Regions from separate parts of the Homo sapiens genome. Here region 2 is linked to region 1. Evidence: promoter capture Hi-C in human tissues and cell types (Jung and others, 2019). All regions are on one chromosome and are shown on one strand. Each heading gives the region's core, a stretch centred on a gene start or on the middle of the fragment in contact. The rest is flanking DNA. Distances are from core to core; before and after follow the strand shown. Region 1 holds the start of ABRA (actin binding Rho activating protein). Region 2 has its middle 68 kb from the start of ABRA.

The links. Contacts are between HindIII fragments. The study calls those that stand out against the background at their distance.
Region 2: a fragment that was not itself captured here is called in contact with the fragment with the promoter of ABRA in region 1 in 4 of the 25 tissues and cell types used here (mesenchymal stem cells, mesendoderm cells, neural progenitor cells and 1 more).

What each region holds. Positions count from the first base shown.
Region 1 is chr8:106,768,247-106,773,573 of GRCh38, forward strand. It overlaps ABRA (actin binding Rho activating protein), which reads right to left and starts at 1,998. Exons shown (of 2, transcript NM_139166.5): 1 at 1,277-1,998. The coding sequence starts at 1,944. The HindIII fragment of the contact is 12,258 bases long and covers 1-5,327 here.
Region 2 is chr8:106,835,363-106,840,689 of GRCh38, forward strand. No RefSeq gene overlaps it. Among named protein-coding and RNA genes, the nearest start is that of ABRA, 68 kb to the left of the region's middle. The HindIII fragment of the contact is 7,877 bases long and covers 1-5,327 here.

The sequences.
Region 1 (5,327 bases), core at 748-3,247:
TTCTTATATTTTGATACCCTGGCATTGTGGAATAAGAAATCCTGACTTTCTACCATGTGGAGTTACTGTCTTGAAATAAAGCACGTGTTTCTTGTCTATATACATGTTTCAGTTTGAGTAAATGTGTATGTGAGTGTATGTATGTGTATTTACCATCTAGATATTTTAATTATTGCTGTATTTGTTTACAAATAGGACAAACTGTTTTTGAAAATTTGAAAAGTTGCAAAGTAACCAAATCTATGTGAATAATAATAGTTTTCGTGTATTGAGCATATGTGACAAGCTCTGTGTTTGGTAGCCCTAATCTCATTTACGTTTCCCAATACAATAGAACTTCTCCCAAAAGCTTACTGTTGCTGTCATTTTACAAATGAGGAAATCTGCTTTTTTTAATTTTTATGTGAAACAGAGTCTTGCTGTGTTGCCCAGGCTGGAGTACAGTGGCATGATCTTGGCTCACTCCGACATCAGCCTCATGGGTTAAAGCCATTCTCATGCCTCAGCCTCCCGGGTAGCTGGGATTACAGATGCACAACACTGTGCCTAGCTATTTTTGTGTGTTTTTTGGTAGATATGGGGTTTCACCAATGTTGGTCAGGCTGGTCTCAAACTCCTGGCCTCAAGTGATCCGCCCTCCTCAGCCTCCCAAAGTGCTGAGATTACAGGCTGAGCCACTGCGCCCAGCTGATGAAATCACCTTTAAAAATGACTAGTTAGGGGCAGAACTAGGATTTGAACTTGGGTCTGTCTGACTTCATTCAGAGCCTGCTTTCAAATTAGACAGCAGCCTCCACCTGTTTAGAGTCAGAGATTTGTATTCCATGGGTGTTATTGAAGCAGACGTATCTCCTGATAATAGCATAGACATTTGGGACAAGGTAAAAGTTTCCCCAATGAGTCTATCAGAAACCACTCTTATCTCTAAAGAAATAAGCCAATTTGTTACTCATTATAGAACTGACTTAAAGAATTCACGAAAAACAGGCTTCCCTCTCTGATGGCTTCATCTTTGTTGAGGCTAAGACTTGAGTGTTCAGTTCAAAACAAAAACGAGAAACAAAATAGCGCAGGCCCTGACCAAAAGGTCCATGTCTAAGGTTGGCACTGACCTTCAGCCCAGGGACATCCCTCCTCTACAGTACTCACTGCCTGTCCAGTCTTTGAGATTCTCACTCTAACCCTGGCAGGACTTCATCTGCTGCCTGGATTCCCAGACTTGGTTGGGGCTCAATAGTGATCCTGACACAAGGAGTGGGAGAATGCATTCACTTACTGGGAGGGCAAGGGGCGCTTGATCCTGACCACAGCCACCTGCACTCCATCCTGCTCGGGCCTCTCCTCAGCCTCTCCTCCATAGCCGCTGTCCTCTGTGTCTACGCTGTCACTCCTCCATGTGGGCTCCTCCTGCTCCATCACTCTCCAGCCCTTGGTTAGCTCAGACACCAGGTTGGCACATTTTCTCCTCCGCGTTGGGGAGCCGTGGCTGTGGAGGATTCTGTCAATGTCATTCTCTGGCTGCCCAGGTTCAAGCACACCAGCATCCCTCTCGTACCTGTGGCTGAGGTGGCTCACGTCCCCTCCTCTCTCATAAGTCTTGCTGACCACCGTTTTGGACACCTCTTTCTTTTTGATGTGAGAAACCTCAGGGGCTTTCTCTGAGCTTTGTCCATCTCCATGTCCTTCTGGCAGGCGGGGTGGCGACTTTGGGGCACTCTGAGCTTTCTGGTGTGAAGTAGGGGGTGTGATTGGTTTAGGAGCTTGAGGTGAGTCCTGGGTCCCTCCCGGCAGCCAGCCTGTAGGCTCCTGGGCCTGCCTGATGCTGTTCTCATTCGCCCACTGCTGCCAACCTCGGGCCAAGCTGATGACCAGGGTGGCTGTGCGTATCTTCCGGAGGGCGCTCTTGGCTGGGCCCTCCCCGCTTTCCTTTTCGCCCGGAGCCATGCTGCCCACCTGTCTTTCTCTGCTGATAGCCTGGACACTGGCTAAAATGAGTGTGGTCCAGTGGAGTGCCTGGGATTTAAATAGAAGCAGGGTGCGGGGTGGGAAGGAGAGCTTAGTGACGATGGAAACTATGTGAAGCATTTCTTGCCAAGATGTGGCGCCTTTGCCCTGATGGTGTTCTTTTTATAAATCATGACAGCTCCAGTTTCATCACGGCAGAGGGACATCTCTGCTGGTAAGGAACAGTGATATGCTCACTCTCTTCTCCAAGTGCCAGAGTGGAAATTACTAGATCAAGTCATGTGCTCAGCCTTACGTTTGTCTGACCTTAATATGGTCCTACCATTTATAGGTGCATACATATTATCCTGGGAACATTATAGGATTGTTCCCACTTAAACCCCAGCAGCCCTCAGTACAGCTCCTAATTAGTTCCACTTTATAGCTAAGTAAAATAAAATCTAACTTCCAGCAGCTAATAAAATATGAGATTCAAATCCATCTCTGTGTAATTCAAAGCGTGTGCCTCCTTTTATTCCAGTTATCAAAGATCCTAAGTTGCCTTTTTCTTTTTCATTCAACTCCATTAGAAATAGACCTTAGAAAATCAACTCATCCAATCTTCATTTTCCAAATGAGAAAATTGAAGCCCAGATACGAGAAAGACCAAAGTCCAGATAGTCAAAGACTAATTACTTTCTAGTCCCAACTTTGAACTATTGTATAGATAACTCATATTAAAATACAAAAAGGGAGTCAAAATTTTGGTCCAATCATTAAAAAATGTTTTTAAAACCTGTATACACATTGGATTTTAGAAATTATTATTGGAGGCCGGGCGAGGTGGCTCACGCCTGTAATCCCAGCACTTTGGGAGGCCGAGGCGGGCAGATCACGAGGTCAGGAGATCGAGACCATCCTGGCTAACATGGTGAAACCCCGTCTCTACTAAAAATACAAAAAATTAGCCGGGCGTAGTGGCGGGCGCCTGTAGTCCCAGCTACTCGGGAGGCTGAGGCAGAAGAATCCTGTGAACCCGGGAGGCGGAGCTTGCAGTGAGCGGAGATCGAGCCACTGCACTCCAGCCTGGGTGACGAGCGAGACTCCGTCTCAAAAAAAAGAAAGAAAGAAAGAAAGAAATTATTGTTGGAATACATATTTTGAAATACTTTGTTTGAAAAGATCATCTAAGGACAGAATTCTAAGGACAGAATAAATGAAAGCTATCGGTAGCTCACTTCTTATCCCCATCCCGCCTACCCTTACCGTTTGGTTTGTGGTTGTTGTTTTGTTTTGTTTTTTGAGATAAGGTCTTGCTGTGTCCCCAGGCTGGAGTGCAGTGGTGTGATGATGGCTCACTGCAGCCTTGACCTCCTGTGCTCAATCAGTCCTCCTGCCTCAGTCTCCCAAGCAGCTGGGAATACAAGCATGAGCCACCATGCCTAGCTAATTGTTTTTGTTTTTGTTTTATATAGACGGAGTCTCGCTATGTTGCCCAGGCTGGTCTCAAACTCCTGAGCTTGTGCAGTCTTCCCACCTTGGCCTCCCAAAGTGCTGGGATGACAGATGTGAGCCCCCACGTCTGGCCCCTTTTGTTTTTAGTAACACAATCTTCCTTAGCAGGACTTTATGTTCATGTAGGCAAAGACAGTTTTTCAACTCTCACAAGAGGGACTGAAATATAATATTTTTTTAAAAGGACTGGAAAGACAAGCATGTGGACAGAAAGAGAAACATCTATGCAGTGTATTAAACCAGATAAAAATGTCCAGGGCTCAGCAATGAATAATTTCTTAAAGTAAGACGGAATTTTTTTTCATTCAACAGGTCTGTTGGCTTTAAAACTATATCCTTTCCTTCAGTCTTGCATGCAAGTAACCATACTGATTGAAAACTGCTGTTTAAGAGCACAAAAAGGTATAAAAGTTAATTATTTCAGAGAGTGAGACATTTATTTTGGAAAAAAGTTGGTATTAGTTTTTTGTTGTTGTTGTTGTTTTGTTTTTTTGTTTGAGACGGAGTCTCGCTCTGTCGCCGAGGCTGGAGTGCAGTGGCGCGATCTCGGCTCACCGCAAGCTCCGCCTCCCAGGTTCACACCATTCTCCTGCCTCAGCCTCTGGAGTAGCTGGGACTACAGGAGCCCGCCACCACGCCCGGCTAATTTTTTTGTATTTTTAGCAGAGACAGGGTTTCACCGTGTTAGCCAGGATGGTCTTGATCTCCTGGCCTCGTGATCCTCCTTCCTCGGCCTTCCAAAGTGCTGGGATTACAGGCGCGAGCCACCGCGCCCGGCCGCTATTCGTTTTTCATCGTGTGGGTTATTTACCTCTTAGGATAAAAAAAATTGGGAAGTGATTTAATACTTAATCTACAGATCTGTCAGAGGTGTTTCCAGAGTTCAACGGCATCTGATAACATTAACTGAGGGCCAGAAATGCGGAGAAAAAAAAAAATCCCTCTTGATTAATTAAGAGGAAATTGGATCACAAGGAAAGAAAACTATTACAAACAAAGATTTCAATCTGAGCCTGAAATTTCTGGCATTCCTCCCAGCAATGCAGATTCACTGCAGCCTGTTTGGTTCTTATCAGAATCTCTTCATCCCACTTGGAAGGTCTTAGGAAAAAATAGAGTTCCTCTAAGACACCCATACGCTTAGCCCAGAATCAGGATAATTTATAGCTTTCAACGGGATTTTCCTGCTTGCCTGTCCACACCTGCCCCAGATTCAGTCCTGATAGAGGGAGAAGAAAGGGAAACAGCAAATGTTAACAGTCTTTCACGTATTAACTGGCATTGCAGTCAGCTACTGGGGTTTGGGGATGTCAGCAGATGGTCTTGGCTGAAAAACAGGAGCAGCTTCTAAAAGAACCTAGTCATTCCTTCTGAGATTTAGCCTCCATGGCAACTGCAGTCCTTCATTCATCACTCTACAGAAGAGAGTGTAAAATCGTTTTCCTCCTCACGCGTGCTTTGGGCCTTTCTTCCCTAAAGCAAGGTCTGTATGCTACCTCCCATACATCTTTGATTACTATAGAAATATTACGTTCATTGTCTCAATCGAAATTCAAATTCTTGGGAGTTCTAGATTTTCCTGTTTCATTTATGTTAGAAATGAAAATAAAACCTCAAAGACAAAAATAAAATGAATTAAGTGTTTTACAATGGGAGCTTCCTAGGAAACCTTGAGATTTGAAACTGTTTGTGAAGATGCAGACCTGATTAATGAGATCATTATCGCCTAAGAAGTCTGTCATAAGTGAGAAAGTATCTTGAAAATAGTATTTGTTATTTTTTGATCATATGAATAGTAGAAAGAGGAAGGAGAGGTATTTATATATTTTTCTGCATGATACACTTAGAAGTTAGGTAGAGCCAACCCT
Region 2 (5,327 bases), core at 1,097-3,596, 67 kb after region 1:
AATCCCTGATACTTGGTGTATAATTGCTATTTTTATCTTTTCATGGGAAACAAATAGGATTAACTGTACCCATTGTTTAGTGTTGTTAATAAGTCATTGTGAGATAAATTCTACATATTGCACAGGGGAGTGAACATATTGATCTTATAAAATGTATGAGAGGAAACTCTATTTGTCCAGAGATTGCCTGCTCTTTTTTCTTTTTTGAGATGGAGTCTCGCTCTGTCACCCAGGCTGGAGTGCAGTGGCGCCATCTCGGCTCACTGCAAGCTCTGCTTGCTGGATTCACACCATTCTCCTTCCTCAGCCTCCCCAGTAGCTGGGACTACAGGCGTCTGCCACCAAGCCCGGCTAATTTTTTTTTGTATTTTTAGTAGAGATGGGGTTTCACCGTGTTAGCCAGGATGGTTTTGATCTCCTGAGCTTGTGATCTGCCCGCCTCAGCCTCCCAAAGTGCTGGGATTACAGGCGTGAGCCACCGCGCCTGGACCAGAGATTGCCTGCTCTTTAATGTTTCTAGAAGATGTTAGAGACTTGCCCCTTCACGACTCAAAAATAAGTAAAAGTTGTGATTAGATAGCACAGTTTGAGGCTCAGGAGACAATAAAAGAGAATATAGCACTTCCTCAGCTTTTGATGCCATCAACTTGGTCAAGGCCATGAAGTTTGGCTGTGGAATGTGTGCCATGAAGTTTGGCTGTGGAATGTGTGCCTGGCCTAGGGTGGGGATGACACCCTCATGCTCAGAGCAGGGGCAAAGCTAGTATTATCGAAGTACTGCTTGGCGCAGCATTTTGTCAGCCATAAAGAGACACTAAAGCCCATTTGTCTAGTCTCTTCTAATTTTCCTACATTTCTATCTCCTTGTGATTAAACAATGCAAAGTAAGGCCCTGCCTAGAATGGAGAGGTGACTCTAATTTTGTAAAGCTTCTAAAATGTTTTGCATATAATTTTGGCAGACACTAAAACAGCACTGGGGAGATACATTTGAAAGATACCTTGTTCCTGCGAATGCCCAGTGTCTGTTTTTCTGTTGGACTATGATAGTTCCTTGAAAGCAGAAACCATATCTTAATCATCTTTGTATTCTAGCACCCAGCACATCAGTAGGTACACAACAAGATAAGTGGGTAAAAGTCGGAGCTCTCTGGGGGAGAAGAGGGAGATGAGTCTAGAAGGATAGAATGCCTCTAAGCAACTCAAGGAGAGTCTTCAATACACATTGGCTAACGTGGTTGATTTTTAAAACAAAAGAAGTATTATTTAGTTGGATATTTGAATCTGAAACTATAACATTACTTAAAGTCTACTAAAGGCCTGCAAATGGGGGACTATGGTAATGAGGCCTCCGTGTGAAATTTATGAACACATCTAACTTAGAGTAGCGCTTAGACTATTGAGAACAGTAGAGACTTACCAATGATCTTACCAAAGTCTCTTGGCATCAGGTGCTCATGCGCACTTAGGGCCAGGGTTGGATCACGGAGAATTCCTGCCTGCGTTCTTGGAGTGCCCAAAGTACCAGCTGCTTGTGGTTTTCATTAAAGATAGATCTATATGCCTTACATGCCAGACTTGCAGATGGCAGAGTTGACTTTCTGCCCTGTAATGTTAACAGCCCTGGCTTTTGTGCTTACATACAAAGGCTCATCCCACAGCTGGGAGGAGGTTTCAGGGCTGCCTAGGAGCAGAGGAAACATTTTTGCTAATTTTTTTTTTTCCTTTTAACATGGCCTAGGCCTTTAATCCACTAATTGTTTATGGCGGCATTAGTCTTCATACTTTTTTACAAAATGTTTTCTTTGAGAGGTATTAAAACTTTGTCAGAGATGGTCACCAGTCTGGCTACTTCTTTTGGCTTACAGTTGGAAGAAAGATTTAGCAAAAATTATACACGAGGAGAGGACATTTTAGCCTGGGCTTCCTGAAAAGGGTGGGGGATAATTTAATTATGTTTACTAATGAAACTCTCAGTAAAGGAGTGTTTGATAGCTGCTTAGATGCCCTACCAGGACTCCATTCAAAAGAGAATTACAGAAACTTTAGAACTGCCAGATCCATTTACCCTGCTGCTTAAAATTCTTTAATGGTTCTTTATAGTCTTTGGGTAATACGCAAACTCGTATGATGTTCAGGCCTCTTCCAATTTGGTCCCAAATTTCCTTTCTAGTGTCTTTATGCAACTCCTCCTCCCATCAGCTTGTTCCCCATCCCTCCAACACCTGATACAACTTCACACCTCTCTAGGGCCCTCTACTATGTTCCCAGAAGGAACTCCAGATTTAAAAAATTGTGGTAAAACATATTCAACATAAAATGTACCATTTGAACCATTTAAAGTGTAAAATTTAGTGCATTAAGTATATTCATAATGTGATACAGCCATCACCACTATCTAGTTCCAGAACTTTTTCACCACTGCTAATGGAAGCTCATACACAGTAAGTATCCACCCCCTTTTTCTCCTCCACACACCAGCCCTTTCTGTCTCTATAAATTTGACTATTATGGATGTTTCATATAAATGGAATAATACAAGATATGGCCTTATGCAGGTGGCTTCTTTTACTTACCATAATGCTTTCAAGATTCGTCCATGTTGTAGCATGTAGCAGTGCTTCTTTCCTTTTATATCACTGAAGACTCTTCCATTGTATGTATATACCACATTTTGTTTACCCATTTGTTTACCCATTCCATTGTATGTATATACCAAATTTTGTTTATCCATTATGAACACTTTGGATATTTCCACCTTTTGACTATTGTGAATAGCTGCTATGAACATCTGTATACAAGTTTCTCAACATCTGTTTTCAATTCATATATATGTGAATTTAAATATGTATTTAGAATACATATAGAAGTTTCAACAAGAGAACATTCAATTTATATAAACATATCCTATATATAATTATATGTATGAATTTATTGAATCCGTCGATAATTTATATGTATACTTGTATATAAATCCATGTATATATACACACACACATGCAATTGGGTTTTGTTTGTATTTTTTGTTGTCAAATTGTAAAAGTTCGTTATGTGTTCTTGATACTAGACCCTCATCTGAAGTATGATTTGCCGATATTTTCTCCCAGTCTGTGGGTTGACTTTTCACTCTCTTGATAGTGTTCTTTAATAAAAGTTTCAAATTGTGCTGAAGTACAGTTTGTCTTTTGAAGTAGCAGTTAAAGTACAATTTTTCTTTTGTTGCTTTTTGGTGTCATATTTAAGAAATCATTACTAAATTCTGTGTCAGGAAGATTTTACTCTGTTTACTTCTAATAGTTGTATAGTTTTAGTTCTTATATTTAGGCCTTTAATTCATTTTCAGTTTATCTTATATACGGCGTAAGGTAAGGGACCAATTTCATTCTTGTGGCTATTCCATTTACTGAGCAGCATTTGTTGAAGAGACAACCTGATATGGTTTGGCTCTGTGTCCCCACCCAAATCCCACCCTGATTGTAATAATCCCCACATGTCAAGGGCAGGACCAGTGGAGATAATTGAATCAAGGGGGGGCGGTTTTCCCCATGCTGTTCTCATGATAGTGAGTTCTCACAAGATCTGATGGTTTTATAAGGGGCTTCCCCTTTGCTGGACACTTCTCTCTCTCTCCTGCCACCATGTGAAGAACTATTAAGGGGTGGGTCTGTGTTCTTAGAGCTCCCAAGATGGTGGCAGGCCACTCCCAAGATGGTGGCGGCTGCTCCCAAGATGGCAGCAAACCTTTTGTTCTCTGACCCGGGGTTCTTGGCCTCACGGATTCCAAGGAATGGAATCTTGGGCCATGCGGTGAGTGTTAAAGCTCTATTAGAAGCCGTGGGTCATGCAAGAGAACCGTGGAACCCAGTGACTAGTGTTCAGCTCGATTAGGATGAACCCGGGTACTTAGCCGTGCAGGAACAATGGCGAGCCTTTAGCCCAGTTGAGAGCAGCAGTGGGCACCTCGCTGAATCAGAAACACAGTGGACACCCTGCCGGATCCTGAGGGGTGGGAGTCAATGGCAGGTCTGCAATGGCGGCAAACAGCAGCGGTGGACAGTGAGTGAAAGCTCAGCTTGAGCCGGAACAAACATGGACCAGAAGAGTGTGCAGTTGCAAGATTTAACAGAGTGAAAACAGAGCTCCCATACAATGGGAGGGGACCCAAAAGGGGTTGCTCACTCTCGGCTCAAATGCCTGGGGTTTATATCCCAATCATTGTCCCTCCCGCTCTGCTCTCAGATGACAGATGATTTGACTATTTCTTTACCTCCTGCTTTTAGCCTAATTGGTATTTTAGTGAGCCCTCTTTACTACCTGATTGGTTGGGTGTGAGCTGAGTTACAAGCCCTGTGTTTAAAGGTGGTTGTGGTCAACTTCCCCAGCTAGGATTAGGAATTCTTAGTCAGCCTAGGAAATTCAGCTAGTCCTGTCTCTCAGTCCCCACTCTCAACAGGAAAACCCAAGTGCTATTAGTTGGCCTAGGAAATCCAGCTAGTCCTGTCTCTCAGAAGGATGTACTTGCTTCCCCTTCCTCCATGATTTTAAGTTTCCTAAGGACTCCCCAGCCCTGTGGAACTGAGTCAATTAAACCTCTTTCTTTTTAAGTTACCGAGTGTCAGGTATTTCTTCAGAGCAGCATGAGAACAGACTAATACACAACCCCATAGTTTCAGTATTTCTCTGGAACACTTTGTTTAAAGAACTTTAGTTCTCCCCAATAATATATCACTTCCTGGCTGCCCTATTAAATAAAGGATTTATTTATAATTTCTCATGGATCCTGGAAAGATCAAACATGTTAAACTCCCATTTTCTGCTCCTCCCTCACTGTACTCCAGCTTATTCGAATTTGTTTTAGTGTCTTTCTCTGGATGCCCAGTATTTTCCACTTAGACCATCTTCTCTCCATCCTCATTGCTATGATTCACTAATTCCATCTGAAAGATTTCAACAACTTGAGAAGAGTCTTTCTCTACAGCTGAATCACTGTTATCATATTTGCAGAATTCAAACACTATGTTGATGACTGGCCTCTCTTCCTTGACTTTCACAATGCCAAGATTTTGGGCTTCCTTTTTTAAAACTATCAGTATATTAGTCAGGGTTCTCCAGAGAAACAAAACCAGTAGGAAGTAGGATACACATTCAGTCATCCCTCAATATCTTAGAGGTATTTGTTTCAGGACCCCCTTGGATACCAAAATCTGTGGATGTCCTAGTGCCTTATATAAAATGGTATACAACCTACACACATCCTTCCATATACTTTAAATCATTTCTAGTATACTTATAATACATAACACAATGTAAATGCTATTTAAATAGTTG